Linked DNA regions of Homo sapiens: region 1 is linked to region 2. The links are contacts of gene promoters, found by promoter capture Hi-C in human tissues and cell types (Jung and others, 2019). All regions are on one chromosome and are shown on one strand. The core of a region is centred on a gene start or on the middle of the fragment in contact, and the rest is flanking DNA. Distances in the headings are between cores, read along the strand shown.

Region 1 (6,513 bases), core at 1,452-3,951, 1.1 Mb before region 2:
GACAGCAGTGAGAATCAGGATTTCCTTTGGTGGAGTTGTTGAAGAAGGAGTATATGGCTGGGGATTAATCCAGGAGGCTTTCTATGGAGAAGAGTTTTGACCAGGAGTTTGATCAGCCTACAAAGCAGGCTGATTCTTTTTGGCATCCATCTATCCATCTGTTTGGCTATTGTTCATCACTAACAGGCTCATTGAGCACCTACTGTGTATAAGTGCTTGGCAGGAGCAACCAAAGGTGATTCATCTGAGGCCTCTGTCTTGTGATGTGTGACACGTATAAGTCAAGATATGTGGATCAGGCTTAAGCTGAGGGTGTTAGCTCAGAAGGGAGAGGCATGACTTTCAGGAGGCAGGAGAGGGGATCCAGGAAGGGCTCCTGACAGTGAAGCAATGGGGCAAGGCTTTAAAATTCAAACGGACAACGTGGCTGAAGATGTCGTAAAATCTGAGCTCACATATGGGAAACTGAGCTCAGAGATCTTCAGCTGAGGGCTGTATTTGATTAATGTTACAATGGAGTGAGAAGCAGAGCCAGGGCTAGACCCACATCTGGGATGCAGGGTGCTAACCTCTGTACCTGTTACCCTCAAGTTGGTTTCTTCCATCCCTCCTTCCCCACCCCACATACCACTCCTCCTACTTTATTTCTTCTTCATCTTCTCTTCTCCTTCCTCTATTGCTCCTGTCATTCGCAGTCGTGCTCTGGCCCAGAGTTGCCGAGTGGGCAAGGCCATGCTCTCAGGAGGCATTCAGTGAGATGGTCCTGGCCCAGCCCACGGGAACGGCTGCCTTGGTAGTGACCATCTTGCCCTGTTCCTGTTCCTTTTCTCATCCCCATCCTTGCCTCCTTGGTTCAGAGCTCTCCTTTTGCCAAAGCACTCATCCTGAGAAATGGGCAGGCCTGGTGTGGTCATCCCATCTAACCAACAAAGAACCCAGGCTCAGAGGAGCCACGTCTTGCCCAAAGTCCCCCAAGCTGGTGGCAACATCAGGCTCAGATTCCTGGTCTTCTGATTCCCAGTCCAGGGCTTCACCTCCCGGACTGGACTAAGGCTTGGCACAGTTCTGGGCCCCAACAAAGTCAGGCTCAAGGAACCATGAGTCTGAAAGGAAAGGCACCCTGTACCACTGTCCCATCCACGAGAAGGGGGGGCTCTGACTCTGGCCCCCAAGGGCAATCCAGAGACAACTTACCAGTCGTCATAGCCATGTATCTGCCAGTGGGTCCTTTGCTGCTCTTTCCTTCATCCCAAGAACCCCAGAGGGGGCCTAGAAGGGGTCATGGATTCTAGGTCCTGCCCCACAATAGTGCTTGTAGCCTTGAAAAGACAAATATGGATTTGTACCATCCATTTGGCCATCCCCTTCCCATCCCCCATCCCCACTTGTCTGCTAAAGAATGTATGACTCAGACCCAGTGAGAGCTAAGGGCAGTCGGTCAGGTGAGCAAGAGGCAGAGTGAGCTGGGAGGGCACTGGAGGGCAGGGGACGAGGAAGCACAGCGGGAGGTCCAGGACAGAGGCAGAAGCTGCAGTGCTGGAGTCAGAGAGGCCTGGGTTTGAACTTCAGCCATGCCACTCCATGGCTGTGTGGTCAGGAAAAGTCACATCACCTCCCTGGTCTTCTGTTTCTTCATCTGCAGAGTGGAGGACTAGTAAAAAAGCTGTGATGATTAAATGAGATGATATTTGCAAAGTGCATTCGATAGCAGGTCATTCTTATAATGATGGAAGGGGGAGAAGCATGACCAATGTTGCACAAGTGGCAGCCCTCACAAATGCTTCCTGATGCTCATGAATGAAGGGCAGTGCTTACCTGAGTCCGAGGGTTGGTACTATTTCCTCCCAGTACAGAATGGGGAGCGGGAAGAAGAGAGGAGAGAGGGTAAGAGGAAGAGGAAACCAGCTGGATTTCCAGCTCCTTCCAAGTCCCATTCTCGTGTGAATTCATAATGTGAATTCCCACAACATGACAGAACACACACATTCATTTCAATAATCATTTATGGAGCCATCACAGGGGCTCAACCCTGTGCTCAATGTAGGGGGAATAAAGACAAGCAGGATGGCCTTGTCATTCCTGAGAAGCTTGCAGCAGAGTGGAAGCGACAGATCAGAGCCAGGGGTTACTATGCAGTAAGGCAGGCTGGGACAAGGCTCTGAGAGGCTCTGGGAAGTATCTTGGGGAAAGGAAGATCCGTGAACTCTTCCTGGAAAGGAATGCAATGGAAATTGGTGGCATAGACAGAGCAGATCCTCTTGTCTTCTTCAAGTTGCCTGCCCTTAGACACAGGACTCATTCCAGGCCCCCCTCCCCTGCCTCATGCTGGACGCTCTGGCCAGTCACACTGCCTCCATGGGTGCTCCAGCCACCTCGATGACAACTCCTTGCTCTATCTCCAGCCAGGACCTTTCTTCTGGGCTCCACACTCGCATTTTTGGTAACCTCCTGCTAACCTCTACCTGGATGTCCTAAAGACTCCTTATGCTCCACAAATTCCAAATGGAGCCAACCTTCTTCCCTTTAAGCCTGAATTCTGTTTTGTATTTTACCTTTTCTCTCCCTAACCATTTAAGTCATATATTTCATCAGCACTTTCAGACTGCTCTCATCCCTCCAGTTCTCAAGGGTGTTAATTCTGCTCTGTGTGTGTGTGTGTGTGTGTGTGTGTGCGCACACTAAATATACCTCATGGGTCTTCTTTCTCATTTGTGATTGTGAACTCATCTTGGTCACACATACCTCTCTTTTCTTTTTGGGGGAAGTCTTTTGTGCCCTAGGTTGGGAAAATGTCCTCATAAAGACCGGCCTTGTTTCCTGCTGGGCCTGAGTGTTTCACTAATCTTGAATATTTTATAGGCTAAATTTATAGTTTAGAGTTTCCATTCTACATGGGTGGTGTAAATTTAGACCCTACACCCAGAAGTGGCACAGGCTTAGGGTTTTAATTACTCATGTGTGAATTTTCTCTCTCACTGTCTGTGAATGGTTTCTTTGCCGCTTCCGCAAAGAAGGTTCTTTTTGTAAGTTCCTGTAAGGATGGAATGGCCCTTCAAGTGTCCCTGCTATAAAGTGGGTGCCACATCAGCTCCTTGCCATCCACAGGCTGAGGTCAGGTTGGTGGAGTTCACAGTGTGGTTTTTAGGCTCTGGCCCTGGAGCCTCTTTCTTTATTCGTCTGACTCATGGGATTCACGGATCTCCTCTATCTCAGCTTCTGCTTTCGTCTCTGGATTCCTTTTTTGTTTCTGGCACTGTGTATTATACATTTTTTATTTTAAGCTTGGTTATATATTTATCTTTTTTGGCAACATATTGCCCAGTATATATATATATTTTTTTTTAATGGAAAGGGATCCTTCAGCACCAGCTGAACACCCAGAAGCGTGTTGTTATTACTATTATTTTACAATTGTTCAAATATTATTATTTATTATACTATTATTATTTTTGCAATTGTTTGTCTTGTTATTTTTGTGTAACATTTCTTATTGTGGTAAAATATGCATAACATAAAATTTACCATTTTAACAATTTTTTTTGTTTTTGAGACGGAGTCTCGCTTTGTCACCCAGGCTGGAGTACAGTTGTGTGATCTTGGCTCACTGCAACCTCTGCCTCCCAGGTTCAAGTGATTCTCCTGCCTCAGCCTCCCAAGTAGCTGGGATTACAGGCGTCCGCCACCACCCCCAGCTAATTTTTGTATTTTTAGTAGAGACAGGGTTTTGCCATCTTGGCCAGGCTAGTCTTGAACTCCTGACCTCAAGTGATCCACCTGCCTCGGCCTCCCAAAGTGCTGGGATTACAGGTGTGAGCCATCACACCCGGCCCATTTTAACGGTTCTTAAGTATACAGGTCAGTGGCATTAAGTCCATTCACATCGCTCTGCAACCATCACCACCAACCATCTCCAGAACTTGGTCACTCTCTGCAACTGAAACTGTGCCCGTCAAACACCAACTCCCCATTTTCCTTTCCCCAGCCCTTGGTAAACATCATTCTACTTTCTGTCTCCATGAATTTGACTTCTCTAGGTACCCTACATATGTGGGATCATTCAGTATTTGTCCTTTTGTGTCTGGCCTGTTTGACTTAGCATAATGCTTTCGAGGTTCGTTCATCTTGCAACATGAATCAGTACTTTATTCCATTTTGGGGGCTGAGTAACTTTCCCTTGTATGGATATACCACATTTTGTTTATCCATTCATCTGATGATGGACGTTTGGGTTGCTTCCACGTTTTAGCTACCATGAATAATGCTGCTACAAACATTATAAATATCCACCTGATTTCTTAAATGTATTCTCATTGGAAAAAATCAAACACAACAAATAAAACCAAAGTCTCCTTTAGTTATTCCTTCAATTACAGACCTCCTTGTGGAGTTGATCAACGTATCTCTCTAGAGGTCGATGGTATTAGACATTAGTGCTGCAACTTACCTCTTCCCTCACATTTAACAGAAGATCTTGGAGAGCTTTTCATATGGGTATATATAGATTCACTCTGTTCTCTTTACCTGTACTATAATATTCTCTACTATAGTTGTACCATAATTTATTTAACCATTCTGCAGTGATAGACATTGGAATCTTTCATTGTTATAAGAATGCTTTATGGGTTTAAAGTATAAGCACTGAAAATTGCAATAGATACTGTCAAATGGTTTTCCAAAAAACAGTGCAAATTTATATTTGCACACCAACCATGGATTAAGTTAGCCATTTCCCCACAATGTGTTACCAGATTTGATATTATCAAACTTCAACATTTTATGTAATGGTCGGGTAAAAACGTTTTCTTGTTTTGCTTTGTCTTTACCCAGTTTCTAGTGAGATTGAACATCTTTTCATAAATGTGTTGACTGATCATATTTTCTTTCCTCTGAATTTCTTAAACATAATTTTTGCCAATATGCTATTGGATTGTTTATCCTTTTTATTGGATTTTAGGAGATCTTCATATATATTCTGGAAGTAAATTATTAGTCTGCTATATATTTGAAATATTGCTACTTTGGTGACATTTCCTGTTGGTTCTAATAGTTTGTCAGTTGATTCTCTTGGGTTTTTTCTAGTTACAGCATCACATCATTTACAAATCTTTTCTTTCTTTCTTTTTTTTTTGGAGACAGAGTCTTGCTCTGTCACCCAGGCTGGAGTACAGTGGTGTGATCTTGGCTCACTGCAACCTCTGCCTCCTGGGTTCAAGTGATTCTCCTACCTCAGCCTCCCGAATAGCCAGGATTACAGGCGCCCGCCACCATGCCTGGCTACTTTTTATATTTTTAGTAGAGATGGGGTTTCACCATGTTGGCCAGGCTGGTGTCGAACTCCTGACCTCAAGTGATCTGCCCGACTTGGCCTCCCAAAGTGCTAGGATTACAGGTGTGAGCCACTGCATCCAGCCTTGTTTACAAATCTTTTTTTTTTTTTTCTGAGACGGAGTCTCACTCTGTCGCCCAGGCTGGAGTGCAGTGGCGCTATCTCGGCTCACTGCAAGCCCCGCCTCCCAGGTTCACGTCATTCTCCTGCCTCAGTCCCCCAGTAGCTGGGACTACAGCTGCCCGCCACCACGCTCAGCTAATTTTTTTTTTTTTTTTTTTTTTTTTTTGAGACGGAGTCTCGCTCTGTCGCCCAGGCCGGACTGCGGACTGCAGTGGCGCAATCTCGGCTCACTGCAAGCTCCGCCTCCCGGGTTCACGCCATTCTCCTGCCTCAGCCTCCCGAGTAGCTGGGACTACAGGCGCCCGCCACCGCGCCCGGCTAATTTTTTGTATTTTTAGTAGAGACGGGGTTTCACCTTGTTAGCCAGGACGGTCTCGATCTCCTGACCTCGTGATCCGCCCGCCATGGCCTCCCAAAGTGCTGGGATTACAGGCATGAGCCACCATGCCCGGCCTACAAATCTTAACAGTTATATTTTTGCCAGCATTTACTCTCCTTTCTTATTTTTCCTTTTAAACTGCATTGCATGGGATCTCCAGGTCAATGCAGAGTGACAAGCGGTAGCGGGCTTTCTGGTTGGATCCTGACTGTAGTGCTGTGATGGAAACGTTCCAATGTTTTACCAACAAACATGGCCCTCGCCCTAGGATTCCAGAAATGCCCTTCATCAAGTTGAAAACAATTAACTTCCGAAAGTTATGACTTCTTTCTCATTCCCCTCATTGTTCATTTGTGTTTTTCCCCATCCCTCCATCTTTCTCTTTCTCTCTCATTCTTAGTAAGTTTTGCCAAAGGCTTACCTATTTCGATGGTCTTTTCAAAGAAATAGCTCTTACTTTTATTAATCAGTTCTATTGTCTACCGTTTTCTCTACTTAGTTTTTGTAAATTAACATTGCTTTTATTTCATTAATTATTTCCTTCTACTTCCTTGGAATTTATGTGATTTGTGCTTTTCTATTTCTAGAGATAAGAGCTTTTTAATCTTATTTTTTAAATGACACACGCACTGTTCCCTTCCAAGGGAGGGTCCTAGCAAGGTTACCTTTTTTTTTTTTTGCTTTT
Region 2 (6,948 bases), core at 526-3,025:
GTTACCTACCTATGTGCTTTGTTTTGACAGTACTTTTTTTTTTTTTAAGTTTAAACCTGTATTTAACATTGACAGATAAAAATCTTCACTTTTGGCTTTTCTTGAGAAAATTGGAAGATCTGGCAATAATAGGTCTACATGACAGCCATTGCCTAGAAATGATTAGGGGCTGCATGTAGAGGTGGAATGTGCTCCATCAAGAAATAAGTCCACCCATTTACATTACCTAAATTATTGTAATCATTTGGAACATCGGACTCCTACCTTAAGTTACTCTGGAAAGCACACTGGGAAAAAGGACTGGGATGTCTTTACTCAAAGTCCATAATTTGAGAGTTAACATTTATTATCCCTTGTAGTTTTGGGTTGCCTTTCTAAATATTTCAGGGTAGGAAGTGAAAATTTGTCAGTTTATTCTTAAACACAAATCTGCTGCTGGTTCAACGTGCACATTTTCAGTAATGCCTGGTCACCAAACTGTCAGCAACTAGAGGAAAATTATCTCCGACCTGGAGCAAAGGGGAGGTTTTTTGTTTTTAGACTAGCTCTCTCACGAATCACGGGAAGGGAGATATTTAACAGGGCGAGTTTCATGGAAACGAGCTTCAGAAGATACCCTTCACATGAGCTGAAGCTTACGGTGTATTCTCTGGAAATCACATTTCCTGTAAGAGCAAACAGCTACTTGGCATTCTCCGTGGTAAATTAGCAAATCATCTAAGAACTTTTAGGAGGGTAAGGAAGAACTAGTTATAATCCTACTTTTTTCTGCTGCAGTTCTGAATCTTCACTGAAGTGTCTGTGATGGGGTTGCACAGCCATGTAGAGAACTTGAGAGTCTGGCTGGAATGGTTGGGGGAAAGGAAAGATAAAAGACAATTTTAATTTCATTGAACTCCCTCCTTTCTCTGCTTGTATTACTGGAGGCGACCACATCCGTTGGAGGAGTCATTTTCTGAGTTAAATTCATGTATATCAGAATTGGTTTTCCTTTCTGTAACACAAGATGATCACAAAATTATGATTTGGGGACATCTGAATGACTAAGATGACTCAATTTCTTAATCTGTAAATTAGAGATAATCTAATAACCAGTATATACCACATAACTTATAAGTTGTTTAGAGGATTAGACAATGCACGTTTGCGCTTCTCATTGATTTTACAGAATTAAGTACTTTCCTTGAAGAGTGACTGTTATTTGGACAGAGAAGGGGAAAACGCGGGTTTACTGAAAAGAAGTAATGCTACTAGAACAAAACAATGGGCGGGGCGCGGTGGCTCACGCCTATAATCCCAGCACTTTGGGAGGCCGAGGCAGGCGGATCACCTGAGGTCGGGAGTTCAAGACCAGCCTGACCAACATGGAGAAACCCTGTCTCTACTAAAAATACAAAATTAGACGGGCCCCGGTGGCGCACGCCTGTAACCCCAGCTACTTGGGAGGCTGAGGCAGGAGAATCGCTTGAACCCAGGAGGCGGAGGTTGCAGTGTGAGCCGAGATCGCGCCATTGCACTCCAGCCTGGGCAACAAGAGCGAAACTCCATCTCAAAAAAAAAAAATAAAACAATGAGAAAAACCTCGTTAACCAAGACTACAGTCCCACGGAACCTTACATCCTGTGTTTCCCGGTTGTAGCTCCGGGCCTTTTCCTGGTTGTACCTCAGGCCCTGCTTTTCCCACCCCCAGGAAGTGAAAGCCTTCCCAAGCCCCCAAGGCATGCTGGGAGATGCAGTCCCTTTTTCTAAAGACTGGGGCGGCCGTGAGGTCATCGGTGGTCGCCGGGAGCCGCCAGCACGTGGCGGCGAGGAAGGGGCGGTGTGCTCCTGTTGTCTGCACCTGAGAGGGGGCAGGAGCTCTCGGCGCTTGCGCCTCCCGCCGCGGTGCCCTCCCGACATGCCGGAGGAGGCGGGCTTCCCGCCGGCCAAGAGATTCCGGCCAGGCTCTGGACCTCCGAGCCGCGCTGGGTCCTTCCCTCCCGGGAGGCAAGTGGTGATGCTGCTGACTGCGGGCAGCGGCGGCAGAGGAGGAGGAGGAGGCCGGAGGCAGCAGCCGCCCCTGGCCCAGCCCTCGGCCAGTCCCTACCCTGAAGCTGTGGAGCTGCAGCGCCGGAGTCTGCCCATCTTCCAAGCGCGGGGGCAACTGTTGGCCCAGCTCCGAAACCTGGACAACGCGGTCCTCATCGGTGAGTGGCCGCGCCGGCGGGCTCTTCCTTGCACTTCGTCCGTGGCTTAGCTAGAGCAGTTTTTCTTACATGCCTCTCAATCCCTTTCGTTCGTGGCTTCAACAAACCTGAATACCTTTTCTGGGCCAGACCTGGAGAGGGGCCTCGAAGAAGAGTCCGGCAGCCCTGCCCTGGAGGCGCTGGACAGCCCGGTGAGAGTGACCAACGTGTGTAGGCAAAGACTCACCTTCCGCGTAAAAGGGTAGAGAAACGTACCGGGGGCTTGCGGATCTTAGAAGAGTGGATCTGACCCGGTTTGTGAGGAGGCGGCTGGGGAGGTCGTGTGGGAGGGAGGGCATTCTAGGCAGGGGGGAAAGCCCGTTTGAGAGATGGGAACCTGAACACATTCCGGTCGAAAGGGAAGGTGTAGTTTCTGGTGCATGAAAAGAGGCAGAGTTGTGGGGCAGGGACTGATTTCATGGGGCTTATGATCCCCAACGTGTTAGAGGAGATACTGAAGGACGGAAAGGATGAGCAGCCAAAGAGAGGAAGGAGACCCATGAGTGCTGCTAGTCAAAGGAATAGAGAGTGAGCAGATGCAGCAGTCAAGTCCGGTTATACTGGACTTGGATGTGATGCCCACTGGATTTGGATGTGAGCTATTTGTAAGAGTTAAAGAAAAAGGAAAGAAACACGAAACGCGGCTGGCAGTTAAAGACAGCTTTTCTTTAGTTAAAACCTGAGAGGCGCTCCTGGCCGATTTCGGTCAGGAGCCCTTTCTCTTACAGACTAAGAGTATATATTGGTGTTAGGGTGAGGGGGCTTATCACAAGCTTGGAATGTTTATATGTGTGGAGAAGTTTTTGGCAGGGTTGGACTCTTTGGGAGCAGGGGATGTTATCTTGGGGCAGACATTTTTCCGGCCCGAGGGGGTTTATCTCCCGGCTGGCATATTCCCGGCTGGCATATTCCCGGCCAGAGTGGGGTTATCCCTTAACATGTCTCTGGTCGGGGAGGAGTTTGGAATGTTTCTGGCTGGAGATGTTATTTGTGGTTTATGGTCGTGCTGACCTTAGCCATTAGGCTGATACCTTTTGGATTTAGGCGGTTTTTTATTAAGGTGAACTTTTGAATGAGGGGCTTGTCCAAGATGGTGATGTTCCTGCTTTGTCAATCCAGACCCTATAGTTATAAAAAGGAGGAGGGACGGCATGTTCTTTCTGGCTACTTCCTGCAACGAGGGGATGGAGAGTTTCCTGGTCTCGGGTTGACTAGGAGCAATGCCGTCTGTAGATGTTTTTGGGTAGTTGTTTGTGAAATTGCCATGATCCTGTCAGTTAAAAATCTTTGAAAAAGATTAATTAGGCAGGGTAAGAACATTAGTTCCAGGCATATTATTAGGAGAGGGCCCAGGAATGGGATGACCCATGCTATGATTTTGTTTTCAAACCAAGAGTCCATTTGGTGGTTTTGGTACTCCCTTAGCTTTTTAGCCTTTTCTTTACGTTTTTTAGCAGCGCTTTTTACTAGGCCCGATTGGTTGATATAGAAAGAGGCGTGAGCCACCGCACCTGGCCCCCTCAAAACAATTATTTAACCTTTTAACGTAGGTAAAAATGTGCATTCTTATCCCTCCTGATAATCTTTTTACCGAAAGTGTACTTTACTTTCCTTACACACCTTGCACATAAAGTGTCTCTTCAATAGTTTTAAATACATGTTACACTGTTAACTTTTAGCAACCTTTACCTTTGTTGAAAACCTTGGTAAGTTCGGGATTTTAATTATGTGCTAGGTGTACAGCCTAGGACTTAGACAGAAGTGCAGTTAAGGTCTGGCTTATTTCAGCATTTAGCTCCATGTGTCCTAGGTTTTACCTAGCTGCAAAGCAGGCAAGTTCTACAGCTAAGAGTTATGGTGACATTTTATAAAGCATTCAGGAGGCCTAATCACTTTTAAATTGTAAAACATTTCTTGCATACATTTCCTCTCATAAAATTTTTCATGACTTTCACAGACTATCTCTGACACTATTGATCGTGGATCCATCCCATCGAGAGCTATTTCAACAAAGCTGTGTGGGTAACAGCTGATTTGTCATTGAGCTGAGGGCTGAAAGCAGGGGGAAGAGGCTTCTGTTTTGAGGAAAAAGGAGGGAAGCTGAGAGAAACTTTATGGATGCTGCTCGATTTAGGATGGGGTTATGTGTGGATGAATCCACCCATCCTCATAAGTTGAAAATATCCTAAGTTGGAAATGCATTTAATATGCCCAGCCTACTTTCAGTGTGCTCGGAACATGTACATTAGCCTATGGTTGGGTGATATTATCTAACATGAAACCTATTTTATAATAAAGTCTTGAATATTTCATGCAATTTATTGAATACCATACTGAAAGTGACAGTTGTGTGGGTACTCAAAAGTACAGTTTCTACTGTACGATTTTGACTTTTGCTCCATCCTGAAGTCAAACAGTTCTAAGACAGGGACCATCTGTATTCAGAGGTTGAGGGGAAGAACTCAGTAGGGAGGGAGGCAGAAGATAGAATCGAGCTAACAGAGCAAAGATCAGGAGGCATGGGGGACGGGGGAACTTGGCCACAAGGGCTAGATGCAGGGCTGGTCTGGAAGAGGAGGAAGGCTAAGAGGCTGCAGGGCTAGAGAACGGATGTAAGGATGGTGCACTGCAGAAGGGCTTCTAGGGGCAGTTAGGGAGAGACCACATTTTAGAACCCCACTTCTGTGAGACAGGTTCAGGAGCCCTGCTCAGAATGGGAGTCACTGGGCTTCAAGTGGGCCCTTGGGGAGGATGGAGACGAGACAGGCTGCAAAAACAAGAAAAAAGATCGATGGCAGTAGTGGTGCCTAGGTGCATTTCGGCTACACTATAAACTCAGGTTTGCTTCTGCACAGCCAGATTATAGGTGGAACATCCCAAATTTGAAAATCCGAAGTCAAGAATGGGCTCCAAGGAGCATTTCCTTTGAGTGTCATATCAGATGCTCAAAAAGTTTTGGATTTGGGAGCATTTAGGACTTCAGATTTTCACATTTAAAATGCTCAGCCAGTAAGTATAATGCAAATATTACAAAACTTGAAAGAATCCAAAGTTCAAAACACTTCTGGTTCCAAGCATTTTGTATTTTACTTTAGCAACGCTCTGTTGCCCTGGTATAGGAGCATGAAAGATAGAGACATGGATCAAAGTTTGGGGTTTTGCCTAGTGGATTCAGCAGGAAGATTGCAGAATAATCAAATCCTTTGTCTGATTCTTATCTGGGTCAGGAAGGATGAGCAGTCAGAGGGGGCTGACAGACTGACAGGGAAAAAAACCCACAAATCATGGGACTGGAGGACTTTTTGAAGTCAGAGAGGCCTGGTGGTAGCTAGAGGGAGGGGAAGGAAGCGCAGGTTTACTGAGTTCTTTGCTCTAATCAGGCACTGTTAAAGGAATTCACACAGGGTAGGAAGTAACATTTACTGCGTGCTTATTGTATGCAAAATACTCAAGTACACGAGAGGGACATTCAGAGCACTGCCCTCTGGGAGCTTCCCTTCTGGTGTTGGAGGAGGACGGACACATTTAAACGCTTCTGTACAACACAGGATGGTCAGTGCTGGAAGAGAGATGAACAAGGCACTACGGAGCCCAGAGGAGGGCCACTGTGCAGCCAGGGGAGCGTGTTTGAGGCCTAACTCATCTTAGAGTTTGCGAGGCAGGCAGTGTGAGGGCAGGTGTTCTGCCCATAGTGTGGGCAGAGGCAGAGGGTTTGAAGGGAGGCAGCAGGCTGGGGAGTGGCCAGGAGTTGAAGGCAGCAGTGCATGAATGGATGTCTCTTCATGTCAGTCAGTATGCAGAAATCTATGTAACGGTTGTATTTTATTTTATATTTTAACTATGTAAATTACCTTTTGAACATTTATATTGTTTCCAATTTTTTTCTGTCAGGAGCAAAATTGAATAAAATCTCTTTGAAGCTGTATCTTTATACACATGTTTACTTATTTTGTTAGAATCAATTTCTGCAAGTAGAATTGTGGGTCAAGGGATATAAACATTTTAAAGATTTAAAAAACATAATTTGACCACCTGAGAAACAATACCAATTAACCAGCTAATTTCACCAGCAGTATACATACCTGAATGCCCATTCTCCTGAGGCTTTACCAACACAGGGTATTTTATCTTTTACTTCTGACTTTGAGCTGTTTGTTTGGTGAAATTTATGTCAATTTGCTTTTTGTTGTTGTTGTTTTTCTAAGACAGGGTGTCATTCCGTTGCCCATGCTGGAGTGTAGTGGTGTGATCATGGCTCACTGCAGCCTCAACCTCTCAGGCTCAAGCAATATGCCCACCTCAGCCTTCAGAGTAGCTGGGACCACAGGCGTGCACCACCACGTCCAACTAATGTTTGTATTTTTTGTAGAGACGGCATCTCCCTATGTTGCCCAGGAGCAACTCCTGGGCTCAAGTGATCCTCCTCCCTTGGCCTCCCCACGTGCTAGGATTACAGGCATGAGCCACTGTGCCCAGCCGATTTGCATTTCTTTTTTTATTTTTATTATTTTTTTTGAGACAGTGTCTCACACTATCTCCCAGGCTGGCATGCAGTGGCACAATCATGGCTTACTGTAACCTTGAACTCCTGGGCCTCATGATCCTTCTGTCTCAGCCTCCCTAGTAGCTGGGACTACAGGCACATGCAACCACACCAGGCTAATTGTTGTTGTTGTTGAGACGGGGTCTTGCTATGTTGCCCAGGCTGATTTTGAACTCCTGG

The links. The method cuts DNA at HindIII sites, captures the fragments that hold promoters and counts their contacts. A contact is called where the count stands out against the background at its distance.
Region 1: a fragment that was not itself captured here is called in contact with the fragment with the promoter of DHX33 in region 2 in 1 of the 25 tissues and cell types used here (dorsolateral prefrontal cortex).

Annotation. Positions count from the first base shown.
Region 1 is chr17:6,518,446-6,524,958 of GRCh38, reverse strand. The region is part of intron 3 of PITPNM3 (PITPNM family member 3); the gene reads left to right. Among named protein-coding and RNA genes, the nearest start is that of PITPNM3, 35 kb to the left of the region's middle. The HindIII fragment of the contact is 4,432 bases long and covers 486-4,917 here.
Region 2 is chr17:5,463,809-5,470,756 of GRCh38, reverse strand. It overlaps DHX33 (DEAH-box helicase 33), which reads left to right and starts at 1,775. Exons shown (of 12, transcript NM_020162.4): 1 at 1,775-2,186. The coding sequence starts at 1,898. DHX33-DT (DHX33 divergent transcript) reads right to left here and starts at 1,665. Exons shown (of 3, transcript NR_135644.1): 1 at 1,618-1,665; 2 at 763-843; 3 at 397-665. RefSeq lists enhancers at 1,682-1,751, 2,132-2,351, 2,141-2,723. The HindIII fragment of the contact is 7,597 bases long and covers 105-6,948 here.